Linked DNA regions of Homo sapiens: regions 2, 3, 4, 5, 6 and 7 are each linked to region 1. Evidence: promoter capture Hi-C in 16 types of primary human blood cells and fetal thymus (Javierre and others, 2016). All regions are on one chromosome and are shown on one strand. The core of a region is centred on a gene start or on the middle of the fragment in contact, and the rest is flanking DNA. Distances in the headings are between cores, read along the strand shown. Region 1 holds the start of EDEM3 (ER degradation enhancing alpha-mannosidase like protein 3). Region 2 holds the start of IVNS1ABP (influenza virus NS1A binding protein). Region 3 has its middle 1.5 kb from the start of TSEN15. Region 4 overlaps LOC107985239 (a long non-coding RNA gene). Region 5 overlaps COLGALT2 (collagen beta(1-O)galactosyltransferase 2). Region 6 has its middle 29 kb from the start of HMCN1. Region 7 overlaps IVNS1ABP (influenza virus NS1A binding protein).

What was found. Contacts are between HindIII fragments. The CHiCAGO score rates a contact against its expected background, and 5 or more counts as called.
Region 2: a contact is called between the fragment with the promoter of IVNS1ABP here and the fragment with the promoter of EDEM3 in region 1, in 9 of 17 cell types (naive CD4 T cells, total B cells, neutrophils and 6 more). The highest score is 9.3, in naive CD4 T cells.
Region 3: a contact is called between a fragment that was not itself captured here and the fragment with the promoter of EDEM3 in region 1, in 1 of 17 cell types (fetal thymus). The highest score is 5.8, in fetal thymus.
Region 4: a fragment that was not itself captured here is called in contact with the fragment with the promoter of EDEM3 in region 1 in 9 of 17 cell types (naive CD4 T cells, total CD4 T cells, total B cells and 6 more); the score reaches 17.1 in naive CD4 T cells.
Region 5: a contact is called between a fragment that was not itself captured here and the fragment with the promoter of EDEM3 in region 1, in 2 of 17 cell types (total CD8 T cells and non-activated CD4 T cells). The highest score is 5.8, in total CD8 T cells.
Region 6: a contact is called between a fragment that was not itself captured here and the fragment with the promoter of EDEM3 in region 1, in 2 of 17 cell types (total B cells and naive B cells). The highest score is 7.8, in total B cells.
Region 7: a contact is called between a fragment that was not itself captured here and the fragment with the promoter of EDEM3 in region 1, in 1 of 17 cell types (non-activated CD4 T cells). The highest score is 5.1, in non-activated CD4 T cells.

What each region holds. Positions count from the first base shown.
Region 1 is chr1:184,753,535-184,756,234 of GRCh38, reverse strand. EDEM3 (ER degradation enhancing alpha-mannosidase like protein 3) reads left to right here and starts at 1,377. Exons shown (of 20, transcript NM_025191.4): 1 at 1,377-1,746. The coding sequence starts at 1,589. LOC105371649 (a long non-coding RNA gene) reads right to left here and starts at 1,061. Exons shown (of 3, transcript XR_922357.4): 1 at 702-1,061. RefSeq lists enhancers at 1,124-1,223, 1,694-1,793. The HindIII fragment of the contact is 1,960 bases long and covers 1-1,743 here.
Region 2 is chr1:185,315,874-185,318,573 of GRCh38, reverse strand. IVNS1ABP (influenza virus NS1A binding protein) reads left to right here and starts at 1,331. Exons shown (of 15, transcript NM_006469.5): 1 at 1,331-1,621. CBSLR (CBS mRNA stabilizing lncRNA) reads right to left here and starts at 1,122. Exons shown (of 4, transcript XR_007066771.1): 1 at 297-1,122. RefSeq lists enhancers at 313-392, 643-742, 1,392-2,005 and silencers at 1,073-1,382, 1,843-1,902. The HindIII fragment of the contact is 11,176 bases long and covers 1-2,700 here.
Region 3 is chr1:184,048,863-184,051,609 of GRCh38, reverse strand. No RefSeq gene overlaps it. Among named protein-coding and RNA genes, the nearest start is that of TSEN15, 1.5 kb to the left of the region's middle. RefSeq lists enhancers at 1-95, 1-103, 164-273, 26-961. The HindIII fragment of the contact is 1,077 bases long and covers 835-1,911 here.
Region 4 is chr1:185,673,971-185,676,670 of GRCh38, reverse strand. The region is part of intron 1 of LOC107985239 (a long non-coding RNA gene); the gene reads right to left. Among named protein-coding and RNA genes, the nearest start is that of GS1-204I12.4, 29 kb to the right of the region's middle. The HindIII fragment of the contact is 1,620 bases long and covers 568-2,187 here.
Region 5 is chr1:183,954,739-183,957,438 of GRCh38, reverse strand. COLGALT2 (collagen beta(1-O)galactosyltransferase 2) reads left to right here. Exons shown (of 12, transcript NM_015101.4): 7 at 2,601-2,677. Among named protein-coding and RNA genes, the nearest start is that of COLGALT2, 82 kb to the left of the region's middle. RefSeq lists a silencer at 1,443-1,607. The HindIII fragment of the contact is 916 bases long and covers 937-1,852 here.
Region 6 is chr1:185,703,860-185,706,559 of GRCh38, reverse strand. No RefSeq gene overlaps it. Among named protein-coding and RNA genes, the nearest start is that of HMCN1, 29 kb to the left of the region's middle. The HindIII fragment of the contact is 889 bases long and covers 989-1,877 here.
Region 7 is chr1:185,293,726-185,296,425 of GRCh38, reverse strand. It overlaps IVNS1ABP (influenza virus NS1A binding protein), which reads left to right. Exons shown (of 15, transcript NM_006469.5): 15 at 1-38. Among named protein-coding and RNA genes, the nearest start is that of IVNS1ABP, 22 kb to the left of the region's middle. The HindIII fragment of the contact is 2,040 bases long and covers 344-2,383 here.

The DNA.
Region 1 (2,700 bases), core at 128-2,627:
GGGTCTAATGATCAGGACAGATATTGATTTAGAAATCAACCACAGAGATATGTTGGCTGAATCCTTATGAGAAGAAATCACCAAGGAATAATTAGAGTACAGAGAGAAAAAGGACAAAAAGAAAACCTTAAGGGAACACCTGTATTTTAATATAAAGTAGCGAGAGAATGAAGGAAAACGGGTCAGCCAGAGAAGAGGTAAGAGGTTAAGAGGTAAGAGGTAAGGTGATAAAAGTCAAGGAAGAAACGTTTCCAGAAAGACCGCCGAATACTGCTTAAAGGACACGTAAGTAATTTACTGTGGTCACAGAGATCACATCGAAGCTCCTAAACTCCGCACCTATTGAATGACCACACTAGAAAAACAATGTGGTTTTTCAAGAGGAACCGATGTGTCATTTTACCAATAGTTAACCTGGGACTCGGTCATCAAAATTCATTGCAAGTTCCAATCTCCTTCATTAAACCTTCTTTGCAGCCCACACAGCTCTCCTTACATTGAGCTTTTGAGGTAACTATTATTAATCATGTACGAGGACCCACGTGCTCCTTCATCCTTGTAGTACTGCGCGGTGGTTAAATGCAAGGGCTTCCGAATCAGAGGCTGGATGGATTCTAATACAGCAGTGTGACGAGCTCTTGTTAACCAACTTTTCTAAGCCTCTGTTTTCTCGTCTGCAAAAGGGGGATGGTGGTACTTACTCTATCAGAGTTGAGAAGAGTGCATGAGATGATTGCGAGTAAAAACCTTAGCGCAATGCCTTCAAAGGCTCAATTCATTTTGCTGTTACTGTGTTTTGGAATTTCCCTGAGGGTAGACGACTACTCCAACACTATTCCCTAACGCAGCAGCACTGACATGGGGACAGTGCGCCTCATTCAGCCAGCTCTCTGGGAAACAACTTTCTGAGGAAGAGAGATAAACAGCTGACGGGTTTCCCGGGACTCCGCAGCCCACCGAGACAGGGTTGACTGTAGGGCGCCGAGGAAAGGGGGAGGTGGGATCCCAGCAACCACTGGCGACCTCGGAGGACCGCAAGTCCCAGGGTGCAGCGCGCCTACCCCGGGTAGAAGCGAGAGACACGGCTCCGAGTCGGCTCGCGGGAGAGCCGGGGAAGAAGCAGTGCACACTGGGACTGGTAGTCCTCAGGGGGCAACTCCGCGGGTCGGAGGCGGGTCGAAGCGAGAGATCCCTTCCCAGTCCCGCCTTTTGTCCACGTCTCACTTCTCCTGGCCAATGCCCTCTCCAGTCGCCGGAGACAGCCCCTCTCCCATGAGGTCTCCATTGGTCCTGAGGCTCTACGGCTTCGGCCCTACCCGGAAGTAACGTTGGGGAGGCGGTTTCCTAGACTACGACACCGGAAAGCTGGGGGAGGCGCTCCGGGATACTGAGGGCGGAGGGCGGTGGCAGCGCTGGCGCTGGGGACCGGCTTGGTGGCTTCGGGAAACAGTTTGGCGCCGGCGGCCGTCCGTGTTACTCCGCATCCCGCCCCGTCTCGGCACGGCTAGCAGCCCCCTGGCCACCAGCGTCCAGCAATGTGTCTCACCGGCCGGGCGTAGCAGCTGCGCGTGCGCGGAACCGCGGGGCCATGAGCGAAGCCGGCGGCCGGGGCTGTGGGTCCCCGGTTCCCCAGCGAGCGCGATGGAGACTAGTGGCGGCGACGGCCGCGTTCTGCCTGGTGTCGGCCACCTCCGTGTGGACGGCGGGGGCCGAGCCCATGAGTAGGGAGGAGAAACAGAAGCTTGGGTAAGGGTGCTGGCAGCCTGGGGTGGGTTTCTCGGTGAGGCTGACAACAGGAGGGGTGCCTGTCATTGCGACCCGGTCGCGTAGTGGCCTCTCCTGTCGCGATTGGAACGGCTCTTCCCGCGCGAGAACCCTAGAGGGGTGGACAGGGTCCGGGGAGGTGGGAACCGCCGCCCGCGACCTGACCTCGGGGGAGCTGACGGGGTGTCGCCCTGGCCGCCGGTGACATGTGCAGGCTCCTTGAAGCCAGGCGCGGTGTGTCAACGCGGCTGCCATGTCAGTGGCCCAAGAAGGGGGCTACAGCCCGCATCGCTGCGCGCTGGAGTTCTGCGGTTGGCTGCCTGTCGACCGAAGCATGGTTAGCTTTCTCGCGCAAGTGAGCTTCCAACTGGGAAAATGTTGCTGATCTCACAGTAGTTAAGGAAATGATGTTTACACCTGTTACGGAAAAGGGGGCGTTCATTGGAACTTGAACTTTACACATTTTACTATTTCCTTGCAGTGTTTTCTTGCACTGTATTTTCATAATAGAATGTTTGGGGGGAAATTATTCAAAAGTCTCAAGTATACCTATTCAGTAGTTTTTATCCGTCTTGGAAGTGTGTTAAAATTATCAATTCTATTTACACCATTTAATTCAGAGTAATACATACACGAGGTCCTACACATGAATAAGAAAAAAGCGAAGAACCAGTAGGAAATGGGAGAAAGGCATGAACGGTTAAGCCAGAAGAGGAAATGGAAGTGGTAAATAAACATGAAAAGTTACTCAACCTCCATAAACGTAGGAGATGCAGATTAAAACGAGGAGCTAGCTGGTTTTTGCCCATCAGATTAGTAAATATAATACAAAACACAAGGATACGGTTCTGGTTAGTTAAGGAATAGAAAAAAAAGGCTTAGTGAGAGTGTAAATTGCTGTAACTTATTGGTAGTATCTACTAAAATTTAAATTGT
Region 2 (2,700 bases), core at 82-2,581, 560 kb before region 1:
AGTCTCCTTGCCTCAAGATTTTAGAAAAAAAGTTGTAAACCTATTGCAGATGAAGGCTCCCACAATTTATTTTTCCTGCTTCTATAAGCATAAATAGTTAATGATAAAAATGGTAAGAGGCATTGACAAAGAGCTCCTAGAATGTCTACAAATTAAGGTGAGTGATCAAACACAAGGTTAGGCCTAGACAGCTTAAGTGTCCTCCACAAATCAGGATAAGCGTTAACAGGACATTAACCTGGAAGCCTTTACCAAACTCTAATTTGGATATAATTTTACCTCACTAAATCCCTCACCTTCAATCAAAACTCCTTTCCCACGTGCCCTTCAGAGTCCACGAAGTTGCTGCCAGATCCCAGCTTAAATCACGTTTCGCTTTCACAGATCTCCCTCCCGGGCAAGGTGGTGGGGTGGATAATGAAGTTTGGCACCTGGTATAAAGGGCCCCAGTAGGTTAGGATAGGAACTACCACTTCTCAGGTGTGTTTTCTTTTTCCGGAAGAGGGCAAGACCAGTAGAGAACTGACTCAGCGTCTCCGACACGAGGAGAGCTGCACGCAGACAAAACAGACCCGGGGGGTGAAAAGTGGAAGTAAACTGGTGTTTGTGGCACCACTGATTTACACCTTCTCTGACTTCTCCAATATTTTTTTCCCCAAGTGACTCAATCTTCTCACCCAAACCAGGCCAAATGAGGGGTTAGTTGTTCGACTTCTTCTCAGAGTGCCTCTCTTCTTCCTCACACTCTCCACGCCTCCTCTCCGCACCCGCCACTTCCCCCCCGACCCTTAAGTTAAGGGCTCATGCCCAACTAGATCCTAATGTCCACGACGAGCAGCTCCAGTCTAGGGGGGGTTGCCTAGAAGTAGGTCTGACGCCGAGCAATCTAATCTCCCACGTCTGATCTCTCAGGCTATTGTGCCTCGAGGGGAAGTCAGAACAGGTGAGGGCGGCTTGAGGGAACCAGTTCCGGGACAGGCAACGCACAGGGCGGCGAAAGTGAGGGTGCGGGGCAAGGAACGGAGGGAGGGACAAAGGCGCGATAAGAGGAACGAGGGCGCCCCCCGAGCGCCGCCTATCTCCTCAGGATCACCTTGCGCTGACCTAGTTACACCGAGAAGGAAGGAACCCCAGTAGACCAGGGAGGAAGGCGGGGCGGGATGTGGGCGGGGCCGCGGGTGGGGCGGGGCTTAGAGTGGGATCTTTATGGAGCTCGCCTGTGATTTGCAGATGGATTCGAGACGGAAGCGGGCTGGGAGGCGTCGGCGGCGGCAGCGCACGTGGTGACGTGCGAGGGGGTGCGGCGCGAGCGGTCGGCGGCGGCGGAGGCAGTGTCTCCCGGTCGCGCGTGGAGGTCGGTCGCTCAGAGCTGCTGGGCGCAGTTTCTCCGCCTGCTGCTTCGGCGCGGCTGTATCGGCGAGCGAGCGAGTTCCCGCGAGTTCTCGGTGGCGCTCCCCCTTCCTTTCAGTCTCCACGGACTGGCCCCTCGTCCTTCTACTTGACCGCTCCCGTCTTCCGCCGCCTTCTGGCGCTTTCCGTTGGGCCGATTCCCGCCCGCTTCCTCCTGCTTCCCATCGAAGCTCTAGAAATGAATGTTTCCATCTCTTCAGAGATGAACCAGGTAATACGCGCTGGTTCTACGAACGACAGATGAGGGAGACGGCGCGGCTAGAATCCGAGAAGAAGGGATGGCGCCGGCGGATGGGAAGAGGGTGGGAGGCGCGGAAGCGGTGTCCTCATCAGGGGAGGCAGCCCCAAGCGGCCGCCGCCGCCCTCTGGGACGTGAAGCCCGCGCCGCGCTGGGCCCGCGCTCCAGCGCTGCCATGGTTGCCAAGTTGCGTTGGCGGCCGAGAGCGGGCGCCGGTCGCCTCGGAGAGCGCGGAGGCTGGAGCCCCTTTGCTACACTGGCGCGGGTGAGGCAGGCTGGGAGGAACAAGAGTTTTTTGTTCGAAGGGTTTTGGGGGGCCTGGGTTAGGGCGCCGCGGGCGGGGATGACCCGCCGGAAGGAGGGCGCGGGACTCCCCGTTCTTGCTGTCAGGAACGGACGCCTCGCCTCGGGTTTGCCTGGGGTTTGGGATTCTCTTCTGGAAGAGCTCTCGAGACTCGGCTCGTGTGGGCGGGCAGCCAGCCCCGGGCCTGGAGTAGGGTGGCACGGAGTCCCCGATCGCCGTGGGCCGCGGGGTCCTTTGTTCCCGCTCCACGTTGCCCGCTTTTCTTGCCAAGCGCGGGGAGAAGGGGGCGGGAGGAGGGAGGGAGCGGCTGCCCTGACGTGTCGGTACTGAGTGACTGCGGGGCTGGCCAATCCGGGGCGGGGGTGTGCGGGTGCTGGGGGCCTCGCCTCGCAGCCTGCGGAGTGGGCGCCGGCCTGGCTGCGCGAGGAGGAAGGCCTGGGACGCTCTTTCTTTTTTATGAAAGAAATCAGTGGCAAGATTTGCTCTTTTTCCGTCCCTCCACGCTTTTGGTTAAGTGTCTCTGATTATAAGCTCTTGATGATAGGAAGGTATCAGGCTGAGGGTTGAACCTAGGGTAACTTGAACCACTACTTGAGAACTACATTTACTTTTTCCCCCAATAGGTAGTGGACATATCTATTGGTTTGAGACAGCTGACATTTCAAGGAGAAATCAGATGTCCAAAAGGGCGCATTTTTGTGATGGAGCGTGCAGTGATGGAGCGTTAGAACACCTTGGCATCAAGCTG
Region 3 (2,747 bases), core at 124-2,623, 700 kb after region 1:
CTCCTTCTGACCAAGGTAGCTAGAACCTGCGCGAACGCTCTCTAGTTTCGCTCTGCGTTTATTCAAATCTGAGCAAATTCTAACGTGAAAAATATTAAAGAGTAGCCTGCGCCCTGAAGCTCTTAATCCTCTTTAAGTCAGTGCTGCCGATAACTCTCTGAGAAAGTTGGGGGATACATACGTCCTCTTTGCCTTCAGCAGTGGGGTCCTGGTTTCTGATTGCTGGGGACGGGAAAGGCCTTACTCAGTGCCCTGACATAGAACTTTAAAGTAGAACCATACTTTCAGGGTGGACCCACGTTTCAGGATTAGAGGAAACACGAGTTGCTGAACGAGTGTTCAGAAAGGTAGGATACAAACTAGCATAAGCATGTGATCTGGAAGCCAAGGATGAGGAGTTTCAAACAGGCAGAGTAGCACATTTTAAGTATTTTTTAATTTACTGTGAGTGAAATGGGAAGCTATTGGAGGCTCCTGGACGTTTTCATAGGATCACTCTGACTGATATGTTGAGGATAGACTGGAGGGAGCAAGGACACAAACAGAGACTGGTTAGGAGGCTATCGCATTGACCAGGACAAGGGTGACTCAAAATCCAAAGTCCCAGGCAGGACATAACTTCTGTTTTCAACCATGATAGACTAAGACCCTAGTGGACCATCCCCCAGCAGAAAACAATTTGGACACAATGCAAAAAGCTGAATATACTGGAATGTGAATAGTGGACTGGTAGGAAGGGCAAGCTTGCTTGAAGATCAGGAACTACACTTGGACACAATACAAAAAGCTGAATATACTGGAATGTGAACAGCAGACTGGTAGGAAGGGCAAGCTTGCTTGAAGATCAAGAACTCCACAAGAAAATTCTCCTCTCTTTGGCATTTAGCTTGGGGCAAAGTGCAGTCCAGAAGTCAGGCTCAGCAGTACCAGGGATGCATGTATAAAACTTATCAGTTATTCTTGTCTGGGGAAGCAGAAAAGTGAAGACAGAAAATTTTGAATTCTGAAGAGATTAAGAAATCCCAAGGAAGGAGTCAGAGAGTGGATCCCCAAACTGTCAACCCACATCTCTGAGAGATCCTGAACCACCCAAAACAGAATCACAGCAGCTCAGTTAAAAACAAAAGATCTGAACTGAGACCAGAGCTGTCTCCAAAAGGGAGAGAGTTTTCAGTTAAAATCTAGCCGGGAAAATTACCTACTAATACAAAGGAAATAACACTCATCAGAGAAGAATAATAGAATCCAGACTCTCCACTTAACACTCACAAAGTCCAGAGTACTATCCAAAACTATCTGACATATGAAATTCAAGGAAATGGATCGCATACTCTAGAGATCAACCCTGAGATGAATCAGATATTGAAACTGACAGATAAGGATTTTAAAGTGACTATTATAACTATCCTCAATGAAGTAAAACATGTTTTCAATGAATGAAAATCTCAGGAGACAAATAGAAAATCTCAGCAAAGAAAAAGAAAAAAAAAGATTTTTAAAACCAAATGGAAATTCTGAAAATTGAAAATTATAATTTTAGAAATAAAAAATTCACTGGGTGAATTTAACAGCCAAAAAAAATTACAAAAGAAAAAGTAGGGAACTTGAAGATAGAGCAATAGAAATTATTAAAAGTAAACAACAAAGAGAAAAATTATCTTTAAAAAGTGAGTAGACCAACAGAGATTTGCTACATGTCAGACAATCCAACATGCATGTAAACAACAGAAGTAGAAAAAAAAAGGGACAGAAAAAATTTTTGAAGAAAGAGTGGTGGCCAGAATTTCCCCAAATTTGATGAAAAACACATTTACTAGTACAAAATGCTAAATACATAGCAACTAAAATAAACACAAAGAAGTCTACATTGTAATAAAACTATTGAAAGTCAAAAAAATAAAGAGAAAAGCTTGAATGCATCAAAAGAAATAACACATCATACACAGGGAAAAGAAGGGCATCTATTATTGAATGAAATGTAAAGCCACACATGAAGATTCATATGTTGCCCTCAAATACATTACATTTGAATGAACCTTTGCCACCACAAAGCAGCTGCTAAGCCCGAAAGAAGAAAATGGCACTGAAATTAATTGGGTCATTGAAGCATGAAACACTGACACGAATTCAAGTGATTGGAAGTGAATAAATCTCTCTGACTCCTAAAGATCCAAATCAGTTCATATGATGGCATTTTTAAAAGCATTAAGAGTATTTTGATGCTAATCTGAGTAGAGGGAAACTTTTATAAATCAGTAAGGATATCCAATGGGATTAGGGACTATATGAACCAGCCTCAAACATCTGCAGGGGAAGAATTTCAGCTTATGTTCAAGAAAAAATAATTGGGGGTATGGAAAGAACCATAAACCAAAAAAGCAACAGATAAATGCCATCCTTTGGCAAATAGATTAAATACTGTTGCTTAGAAAAAGCATGATACATTCAAGAATGAGTATTACGTGCTTTTCAAAAGAGTTGAAGAATGAAAAGGGAGTGTCTGTTAGCTTCCCTGTTAATGTAAATTTTTAAATAGGTCTTGGTGATTGTGAATGGCTAAGAATGAACACAAAGGATTTGGGAACACTTAGACAACCCAGTATTTAAAGTACAGAATCAAAATACCTATTGTGACAATCTAGAGTGAAATCCACTAGAGAACAGAGGAGAGTTTCAGTGTCTGGTATCCTGGAGGATTTCTCATTTTGTAAATGCTTCAATAGTTCACTCTATTAGAGAACCAAAGT
Region 4 (2,700 bases), core at 128-2,627, 920 kb before region 1:
TGATGGAGAAAAAACTGGGAAGCAGATAGTTCACTGATTTAAGTTAGACACAGGTCAGTGGCTAAGCATGTAACTAAACTATAAGTAGACTAATAGTTGCATGAATCTCTTCTCTGCTCTTTTTATGTAGGACAGAGTTCACTGTCATCCTCTTGCCTTCCCTTTTAGGATCCTCTCTGCTATCCACTTGTCACAAGTGCCTAATCTATGCTCTATTCCTAAAGAGTCTGACTTTCCCAGTTAACTATTAAGTTTGGAAAATAATCTCTTAAACTAGAATGTAGTCTTAAACCAAAATGTAACTATGGCATATTAACAGATGTTGTCTAACAACAGTAGTCTCTAGTCAAATTGGTTTGGAAAATTCTAGGTTAAGCAAAGGTTTCTTTTCTGTAGAATAGTTTCAGAACTTTAATATGCTGATGTGCATTGTGAGTCTTCAGGTATGCATATCTCAACCTTATTAGATTATGGCAACTTTTTTTTACAAAGCAGATATCATAGATAGTATAATAAAGTGAAACACAATTTGAAAAACACTGTGACACAGCTAATTCCTAATAAGCTTATCTTGGATGTATACTTTCCAAAAATATAGGTACTTTTAGTAATTATTAATAAAATGAATTGTCATTTTGATCATTTAAAATACATAGTAGAAAATTAAACTGACCTCTATTTATACTAGCTAATGATAAGAAGAGATCCAGAGCCTTTTAAAATTGACTTTTGGAAGATTAAAAAGGCTTTAAGATGTGAAGAAATTAAAACTTAAGATGGCACTTCATATACTGTGAAATGAGATGCTGAGGGTGGATGACAGGAGAACTCTACCAGTTAACATCAGATTACTTCACGTCGGTATCTGCTCCCTTGTGAATAGAGGTACCATTTATTCAGCACTTGCTGCATGCTACACTGTGCTAAGCACTTTATTTACACCAGCTCTAGAAGGGTAGAGCCTATTACAATTCAAACCCAAGCTGGTCAAGTTTCAAAGCCTATGCTATTAATCTGACTATGACACACCTTCCCCAGCCTATCCCAGTTAGCAAAATTCAAATAATTCACATGAACTCTGCTTTTTCTTCCATACTGCAACTCCTGAAAGTGCCAAGATGTAAGCCAGAATTCTGCCCATATTTCAGAACCATTTCCCTCTCCTTCAAGCTGCCTGCTTGTCATTTTGTGTAAGTTTTATGATTTCATTTTAGAACAGCACTTCCCATATATTCTCAGGGTTTATTACTATCATTCCTTACCAAGGTGTGCTTAGGCAGAAGAACGGATACACTCACCAGCACATTGTTCATTTTTAGGTACTTAGTTTTAAATAAAATGTGCAGTTTAAATAAGAATGAAGCAGAAAGTTAAGTAGAGAATAAGAATTTTTATCATTTCGCTCAATGAATGCCTACCATTTAAAAATTTTTAATGCAATCTAATTCTAAATGCATCTACTCAGCACAATGAGAAGAGACAGAGAGAAATAAGTGGACCCTTCTTAAAGTGTTTACCATCTTTCTACAAATCCTACCTGACATGCCTCTAGGAATATTTTCTCAGACAACAGAAACTGAGATGCAATGAATTCAGTTACTTTACATAGAAAAATTGTTGCCTAACATCCTATATAGTTTGAGTGAGTTAACTTTCATAGCCCATTATTTTCACTTATTAAAAGAGAGATAAAAGAAACTTCTTTCATGTTCTGTTCATTCCTCTGTTTTTCAATTTCTCTACAGGAATTTTTGTCCACATCATGCATGAAAGACACAGTAGAGAACAGAGCTATCGTCCAACTGCATCAGATCTTACTGACTGTTGCTTCAATTAACTAAAACTTTCAGAAAAACAATATCTGTCCTCAGGAACCTAAGCAGTTGCCTCCACTTCTCCCATTTATTTTGTAGGAGTCTATACATAATTCCATAATCTTTAAAACTGAGACCCCTTGAGATTGCGTTTTTAAAGTAATGTTGAAAAAGATTCTACTGCTGAACATTTATTTTCGGTCTCTAATGAAGGGAGAGAGTAACCTTCATTCCTGAAGAGTTGTGACAATGTAAACATAAAACATTTATCTAGAATTTGGTCAGAGGAGCATATATGAAAGTCACCAGAATGTGCTAAATCATGACCATGACCATAACAATAGAAACGGGAGAAAAAAAGTTGTCAGAAGCTTAGAGCCATGTTTTCATAGGGGTGGAGGGGCACAGAGAGGATGTATTGCTCTTCGTCTATCTTGAGCAAATGTTTGCTTTGGTCTATTTTTACTTCCTCTCCCACTTCCTACTAAACATGTCGCACTAGAGTCAGTCATGTCAATATTTAAAGGGACTCATTTAGCAGCTGCATTGTCTCCACTTCCCGTCATCACGGAACACTAATGTTAGCTGTTGTCTACTTTCAAAATAAGTTTTAAACATAGTTATCTCCATCCTTATGCCCTCTTCCCACAATTGACTTCCACATTTTCAAATCAAACCACTTCTAATAATAGTTCATCAGTTCTGAAGTTCTACTTTGTGTTTCATATTCAGTGTTCCAAAGAAGCTGAAGGAAAGATACAAAATTAATGTATTAATTCAATTTACTGACCTTCTGAATCAGATCTCTCCAGTAGCAAACCCTGGGCATCTGCATTTTCTTATTTTTTAAATAATTGCCTTTCCTTATTTAAAACTTTTATAATCA
Region 5 (2,700 bases), core at 145-2,644, 800 kb after region 1:
AATGAGCTACTCTGGACCCAGCCCAGTTGCCTGGTTGGCTAATACCAGTGGCCACCAAGGACTAGCTCTGGGGATGATGTGGAATGGGAATTAAGAGCTCCGGTAAAGGAGTAGGACCTAGGTTCAAATACCAGCTCTATCAGCTCTGTGATCTTGGGCAAGTTATTTAATGTTTGTTTCCTTGTCTATAAAAATAGAGACACTCATACATATCCCATGGTACATGTGAACATTAAATATATGTGATTATATATGTCAAGTATATATGTGACATATATATATATCACTCACAGAACTCTGGGTTCTGTGAGTGATAAGACCTCTGTAACAATGGCTGTAATTATTCACATTAGATCTTGAAACTATCCCGAAAGCAATGAAGCCCATTGTCCCAAGTGGCAGTACAGGGAAGGATTATTTCCAGGAAGGGATTTAATGAGAGACCAGATCAATTATGAAAGATGGAGTCAGAAATGACTACAAACAGAAGCCAGGATATACCTAACCTTCAAGTCTGTTGTCAGCAAAGATACATCCTTCTCCCCACAGACTAAGTTTCTTAGGTCTGACTCACTGTATCACTTCCTGTTTTCCTCTGTGGCTTACTGCTGCCTTCAGTGGCAAAACCCAAGCACACTTCTCTGATATTTTTGCTCAGTGATGACTTTCGGGAGCCAACCACTTGTGGCTTTTTTTTTGCAACACTTGTCCTGTGAATGCAATGACTGCCTATGTTTGATGGAAACAAAGTGGCTAAAAGCAGTCTCTTTGGCTGAAATGTTAAAGCCACACAGGCCATGTGAGTCCAAAGGAGACCAGCAGCCTAGAATGGGTAACTCAAAATATAACATCTTCCCAAGTCTCAGGCCCCAGGAGGGAGAGTGAGACAGCTCCTCAGACAATATCATGAACAGGAGGAAGCTGGTACATTAAGCTTCTTTCTCTTAAAAACCTAACCGTGTACCTGGTGGACCCTCCCTATTGATTTTAAAAGAAACTAATAAGGAGTGGAGTGGAGCAGAAAGGACCAGAATATTCTCGGCTGCTATTGGGAAGACAAAGACATGCACTGCATATGCACAGAAATATGACTGTAAGTGTCAAGTTTGAAGTAATGAGACCAGCTCTTGTGTTTGGCCTAAGAACTCTGTCTCACTACGTTCTAGAATTTCACATCATTCGCCAATAAGTAAAATTGGATGTCAGGATTTCTCTATAATATTTCAGTGAAGTTAAACAGATCATACCCTTTGGACAGTATCTCAGGATGGGCAAAGTTATGCTGGAATATAAAAATCTGATTGGCTTCATACAACAATGGCTTATTTCTTGCTATCCAAGTCTGCAGAGCAGGTGTCTTTCCTGGGAGCTGCCCTTCATGTGTTGATGCAATGTTCCAGGCTGCTTCCAATTCACATCTGCTATCCATATCCACACATGCCGCTATGAGCACAGTGGTGGGACCAAGGGCAGTGTCGGGGGAGCCCTTGGAGAGTGGAGCAGCAGCACCACACTATAAACTTTCCCCAGAAAGTCATATAGCCCTGAGTAACTTCAAGGGCAAGAGAGTGTATTCCTCTCCTGTGCCTGGAATAGAGGTGAACAGATACGTTACAGTAGTCATGGCCATTACCCATAGTTCTTTCAACAACCCAGTTACCAGCTATCATTTTAAATTTTCTTTGTATTATCCCTTTAAGGAAAATCAAATGAGGACTTTGAATTTGTATAATACTAAACATTCTTCGAGGACTTTGAATTTTTATAATACTAAACATTCTTCAAGGCCTTTTCAGGTTTCTTAACCAATATTACTTCCAAACTTTAAAATACATAGTTTGCAAAGGAAGCTTTTTTAGAGTATCAAATAAATAAAACTTTCATTATTGAAGAAGTAGTGTCACTCCCAGCTGGAATCTTCCCATTAGACATGGGCCAGCTCTCTGTGGTTAGATCCTGTTAAAGCAATGGACCTTTTGCGCACCCACACCTAAACCTGCCCAGGTGGGATAAAAATAGTCCCCCACTTTGACAATTTTAAATGCAGAGAAAAAAGTGTTTTTCAGTAAAAATTCTAGCCTATTTCTGAGCTCTTTCATCATGGGCCATAGTAAGTAATAGCTAAGAGTTGTTGAGCATTTACTGTGTTAAAGTGGTGAGTGCTTTGCACGCAGGTCTCATTTAAATTTTATAACACAGATACACTTCTATTATCCCAATTTTACACCAAAGAAATGAGCTTAAAGAGGTCCCCTAACTCTCCTACTCCTTCGCAAACCAAGGTTTGGACCCAGATCATCCGACTCTGGAGCCCTTCCTCTTAACCATTATCCTAAACTGCCTCCCAAATATTCTTGAAATAAGTCTTAAGGGAAGTGGAGCAAATGTTGCAATCTCCATATAATCAAATGCTCCTGAAACCAGTGCCCTGACCAGCAGGGTTCCTGTGTGGCTACTCAATCCTGGAGAACTGCTGCCATTGTCCCCTGCCCTGTATTTCCAAGTTATATTCCAACCCTAGAGATCAGGCATGCGGATGGAATTCTGATTTCTGACCCTTTCATTAACAAAGCACTCTGCATGTTTCTTGTGTCTTCCAGTTGACCGTCCTCCAATGGAACCCTCCCAGTATGTCTCAGTTGTCCCTAAATATCCAGACAAGATGGGATTTGATGAGGTAGGAAAGGTGTCTATATGTGT
Region 6 (2,700 bases), core at 184-2,683, 950 kb before region 1:
CATAAGATAGATATGTAGTTTATAGTTAGTGGGCTAGAAAGGCTAGACAACATATCTAACACATGCATGCATTTAAACCTCACATGCCTTATATCAGACATGCTCAGCTTCCCAGAACACCATAGATGTCTACATATCTTCATCCATTAATTCCAACCTTCCCTCAGAAAAGATATAGGAAGGAGATGGTGATAGATTAACTCCATAATAGTTATTTGGGGATTATCCACTATAGTAAAAATAGAAAATAAAATATGAATAGTATGACAAATTTGTGGTCTTGTGTCCTACCAAAATATCTCCTGCCTAGAGGTTTTTTTAAAAAAATAAAAAACACTGGGGTATATAACTACACTTTCTGAATTTAGGGCTGAGAGTCATAGAGTCCAAATTATTCAACTATTCTCTGCACTATCATAATAAAGCAAGCTCATGATTTCCCAAAAGATAGAAGGTACCATTGATACATTTTTTTTCTATGAAACGTTCACAATGTTTTAGGAAAGCTTTTAATGGTACATGATCTACATCTCTGTTTAATCTATGTTTCTGTTTCATGTTTACATAGTTTTATGTATGTCAATATGTTCTCACTTTTACAGAGTCTCTCTTGAATTGTAAACTATGAGAGAGAAAGAGACTCTCTTTTATAGATACAACATGACACAAGATACTTGGAGAATTTTTAAATATAGTAAATAGTGCTTTAGTTAAATGTTATTGTGTTTTGTCATAACCTGCAACTAATAGTGCTTTTTGATCCCCCTCATGGGGTTGTTGGGATGATTAAATATGACAGCTAGGGCAAGGCACTAGCACGGTGTCTAGCAATCAGTAAATCTCCATTAAATATCAGCTCCAGGTTTGATACTGAAACAAGTATTAGGGGTCAATATTTATGCTTAAAATTAAATATGCAAAATTGTAAGATTCTTACCCCTGTAGTGATATGGTGAGAAGAGGCAGAGCACAGAAGTTAGCACAAGCTTTAGAGCTCAACAGTCAGAGTTTGGGCCATGGCTGTTATACTCAGTAACTGTATGACCTCAGGAAGTTATCTGACTCCCAGCTCTTCAGTTATCATTAAAGAATTATTTTCAAAGTCATTAGAGATAGTGTTTATAAAGCACCTAATGTGACAACCAACACATAGTAAGCATTCAATAAATAGTAGCAGTAAATCCAAGGGGGGCTTCAGTCCATATTACCTCATCTCAAAGGATTCCTCTAAGTACTTGTCATTCTGTATACAACTCTTATTTTTATCTAATAATTTGATTTTCCCCAGATGGTTATTACATATTTATATAATGCCTATGTTCGTAAAAAAGCACATAATTAATTTTTTAAATGTATTAAATGCCCTGATAAGGAAACGCATCCAAAATTGAAAAAAGGAAGAAACAAAAAAGTAGATTGCAAGTTCTTCCAATATTTTATGGGTTTAAGATTTACCCAAGGGATTACCCAAGGGATTTCCCAAGGGATTATCCAGGAGAATATAATTTGATTTACTATATACTACTGATTAAAAGTCTCAAACGTAGTGACATTACCACGAAACTTATAAATTTTTGTCCAGTAAAAATGAAAATAAAGTCTGGCTTGTGGAACAGATTATCCCAAAGGTAATGGTATCCTGTAGGATATTAACCAGAATTTTTTAATGCAGTGTAGCAATCTTATCCTGACATTCCTTTATTAAATTGCTTATAAATGCCTAAGTCCTCAAATGCTTTTGCAACCAGCATAAACATCTTACTGATTCCTTCTTTAATAGATAAGCTGAATAGAATCTTTGACTTGTTTATTTTATATTTGCATGCAACTCATGGTTTTCATTTTCTTAAAATTATGTTAGTAGCTTTGAGAAAGCTTAGTAGAAAAAATAATTACCATAGTTAATATTTTAGAAAGTGAAAAATTATTTAGCAACATGAATGATCACTTTCTAATTAATCTCTTATAGCAGCCTTTTCTATGTGTTTTCTCATACCTGAGCATTCTTGTGTTCAGGCCACTGGCATGAGCAAGTACAACTGCCACTTGCTGCAGCAAGATAAGTCGGCTGAAGTTCTAAAGTCTCTTATACAGCTGTATGAGTAATGAGTTCAAAAATCACTCTAACAATTGCTATTGGCTTCCCTTTCTTTGCTTATTCCAATCCTTATTAATGGTCTGAGAGATAAGGCTCCTGTTACCACATGCACACAATGTCTGGCTAGCATCGCACATACGAGATATGGTTTCATTCCAGTTTTCCTGCCACCAGGGGAAATAAACAACAAAGTTGGACTCTGAAGGAATGGGCTTGTTGGTTTAGCCCATTTTGCACCTTGTTAATGTCTTACTCATCCATATAGTGACCATCTGGCAACACTTGGAGCCAGATTTCTGCTTAATTAAGTCATGTGAATTATCAGAGGCTTACATACCCAAAATTTAGAAGAAACAAAGGTGTGGACAATTCTAATCTGAATTTATTATTGTGTGACTTATTCAAAGTCAGATGATGCATATTTTCATGGACAAAAAAGTTGAGGTATATGATGAATTCTATAGATTCAAAATAGTAAGAACAGAAAAGGTATAAAAGGGAAAGTTATTCTCTTCACAGAAGGATTCTCCATGGTAAAAAATAATTCATAAAAGACCTTTTAAGGAGCAAAACCCCCTAATACTCTAAACTTTTCTTTTTCT
Region 7 (2,700 bases), core at 114-2,613, 540 kb before region 1:
AAGGAAATAAAATTTTAGTTGAGGATTCAGCACTAAAATCCTTGAGATCACTTCTCATTTCATAAGTGACATGCTTAATGCAAATAATATATGGGAATACTTTGGGTCAAAGTTTTCCTGCATTACCTTGGATGCCAAAGAGGTAGTTTGGTGGCCAAAAAGTATCTTTTTTTAAGAAGCTGTTGTAGCTAGTCTGCATGAACATGAGAAGTTTCCATAAAGGAAAAAAAGCAGTGCTCAGTGGCCATTTGTTACTGTTAATCTGTATCTAAAAGGTACATACTTTCTTCAGAGAGGGAGAAAATGGCATAGCCTCAGCACAATTTAAAAAAAAAAAAAAGCTTTTTAACCAGTAGGAATTTTTGAATAGTTTCAAAATAATATTGATAATACCACACTTCTGGTCAACTTAATAAAACACTCTAAATTTCCTAAAAAGGTAGAAAAGCTATAAAATATCTAAACCAAATATTATTGGTTATACTCGGGTGGATCTTTTATTATGAACTTTAAATGTAGGGTTCTGATTTTTGGCTTCTAGTGTGTCATGTACTTTACCACTGCTCAACATGTTTTCAAATTCCCAATATAATAATCATATTTTAGGGAAAATCCAGGATTTGAGTATGTGATATATCATTAGAATCCTTGCTTAATTAACAAATTAGGTGTGTGCCCTATTACCTCTCCTGACCTCAGAATTCTTAAAATTGAAGTAGGCAAAGGAGGAGCCCCAGTAGGACATTTCTGTAACTGCATGCAGAGTTGCCTTCAGAAAAGTGAATATGATTCATGGAAAATTCAGTTGCTGTCGTAATTTACACGCAGCTGCTTTTTGTTCCAAAAAAAAAAGGTCTGAAGAGTCAGCAAGTGAGACATAAGATACAAGGTTAATTAACTAGGTGTAAAGGAGAAAGAAAAACACTCATATATGAATCCTTAAATCCTTGGTAAGACTGAGCTACAAGTTTCATCCTATAAACAGGTTTTATTAAGTTAAATCAGTGTCTCTAGGTTAAAAAGGAGTAATTGCTATGAATTGCAGATATCCTTCATAATAAAACTGCCAGTTTCTCAAGAATATTAATGACACTTTGAACAAGTAGAGTTTATAAACAGGAACATACAAACTCATGTGAATGTCATGGGTTCTTCAACCTATGAGCATCAATAATCTTGGCCAATAAAATAATGAACTTTATTAACAGCTCCACACCTTACTGGGTGGAGAGAACAAAGGTGAGAAGCAAAACTCAATCATTATGCTGGATCTGTGTGGAATGCCTTTAACAGAGGCATATATCTGAATAGAGGCCACACACTTGCTCAGGATGACCAAAGGAAGTAACATAATTTTAGCCAGAAAAAAAAGGCACACAGAAAGACCTAACTTGGAGTAATGAAACTACTGAGATGAAATGTCCAGCAAGGTAATAAGATGAGATCTGTTAAAACGATTTTTAAATGGGTAAAATATTTGAAGACACTTTGCAAAAGAAGTTGATGCCATAAGAACACAGGAAAATACTATCATAAATCATTAAGAAAATGTAAATTAAAACCAAAATGGCATACACCTATTGAAACTGAATATACCAAATTCTGCTTACGATGCAGAGCAACTTGAACTCTCATACATTGCTGGAGGAACTGCAAAGGTGCACAGGCAGTTTAAAAAACAATCCATCCATTTTCTAATAATCTGTGACAAAGCAATCCCATTCGTAGGTATTTACCCAAGTGAAGGAACATATTCACACAAACCTGTATGTGAATATAGCAACTTTATTCATAATCACCAAAAACTGAATTCAGTGAAGTAGCCTTCCACCTGGTGAATGAATAAATTTGTACATCCATGGCAATGCAATACTTCTTGGGAATAAAATAATGAACTACTGATAATATGGATAAGTCTCAAGCATCATGCTAAATAAAAAGCCAGACTCAAAAGCCTCCATTAGCTGGGCATAGTGGCATGCACTTGTAGTCCCAGCTACTCAGGAGGCTGAGGTGAGAGGATTGCCTGAGCCCAGGAGTTCAAGGCTGTAGTATGCTATAATGTCTGAACAGCCACTGCACTTGGGCAACATAGCAAGACCCTGTCTCTTAAAAAAACAGTCTCCATTTATATAGCATTCAGGAATAGGAAAAACTACAGGGAAGGCAAACACATCAATGGCCTCCTGAGCTGGGAATGGGAGTTAATTACAAAGGGACATGAGGGAATTTTTAGGGGTGGTGTGACTTCAATATCTTGACTGCTGATGATTGATTGATTACATGTTTGACAGAACTCACAGAACTCTACACTTACGAAGGAAAAAAAGTTTTGTTTTTCTAGCTTAACCAAAGTGGTACCAAACCTTTAAAATATCAAGCTTAGAAGAAGGGCTAGAACATGTCCATATTTTACCTCATTAGAAATAAAGAATAGGATGTTGAAAATGGTTTGTGCTTTAAGAAGACTGAACCAAGCTAGTAGCTCGGATTTGGGTGTCCACCACCTCACCTTCCAGGCTTATAACTGGTAATTCTGCTCAAGAATCTGTCCTCAGTGTTTTCAACATCGAGAATTAATTTGAGACAAACTACATCTAGTTCATAAACAAAGCTAGAATTAAAAAGGATTCCTGTCACAGGCCAAAACTAGTCTACAAACCCTCAGGGTGGCCAATTCTTGCTTTTAACAACAGCCAA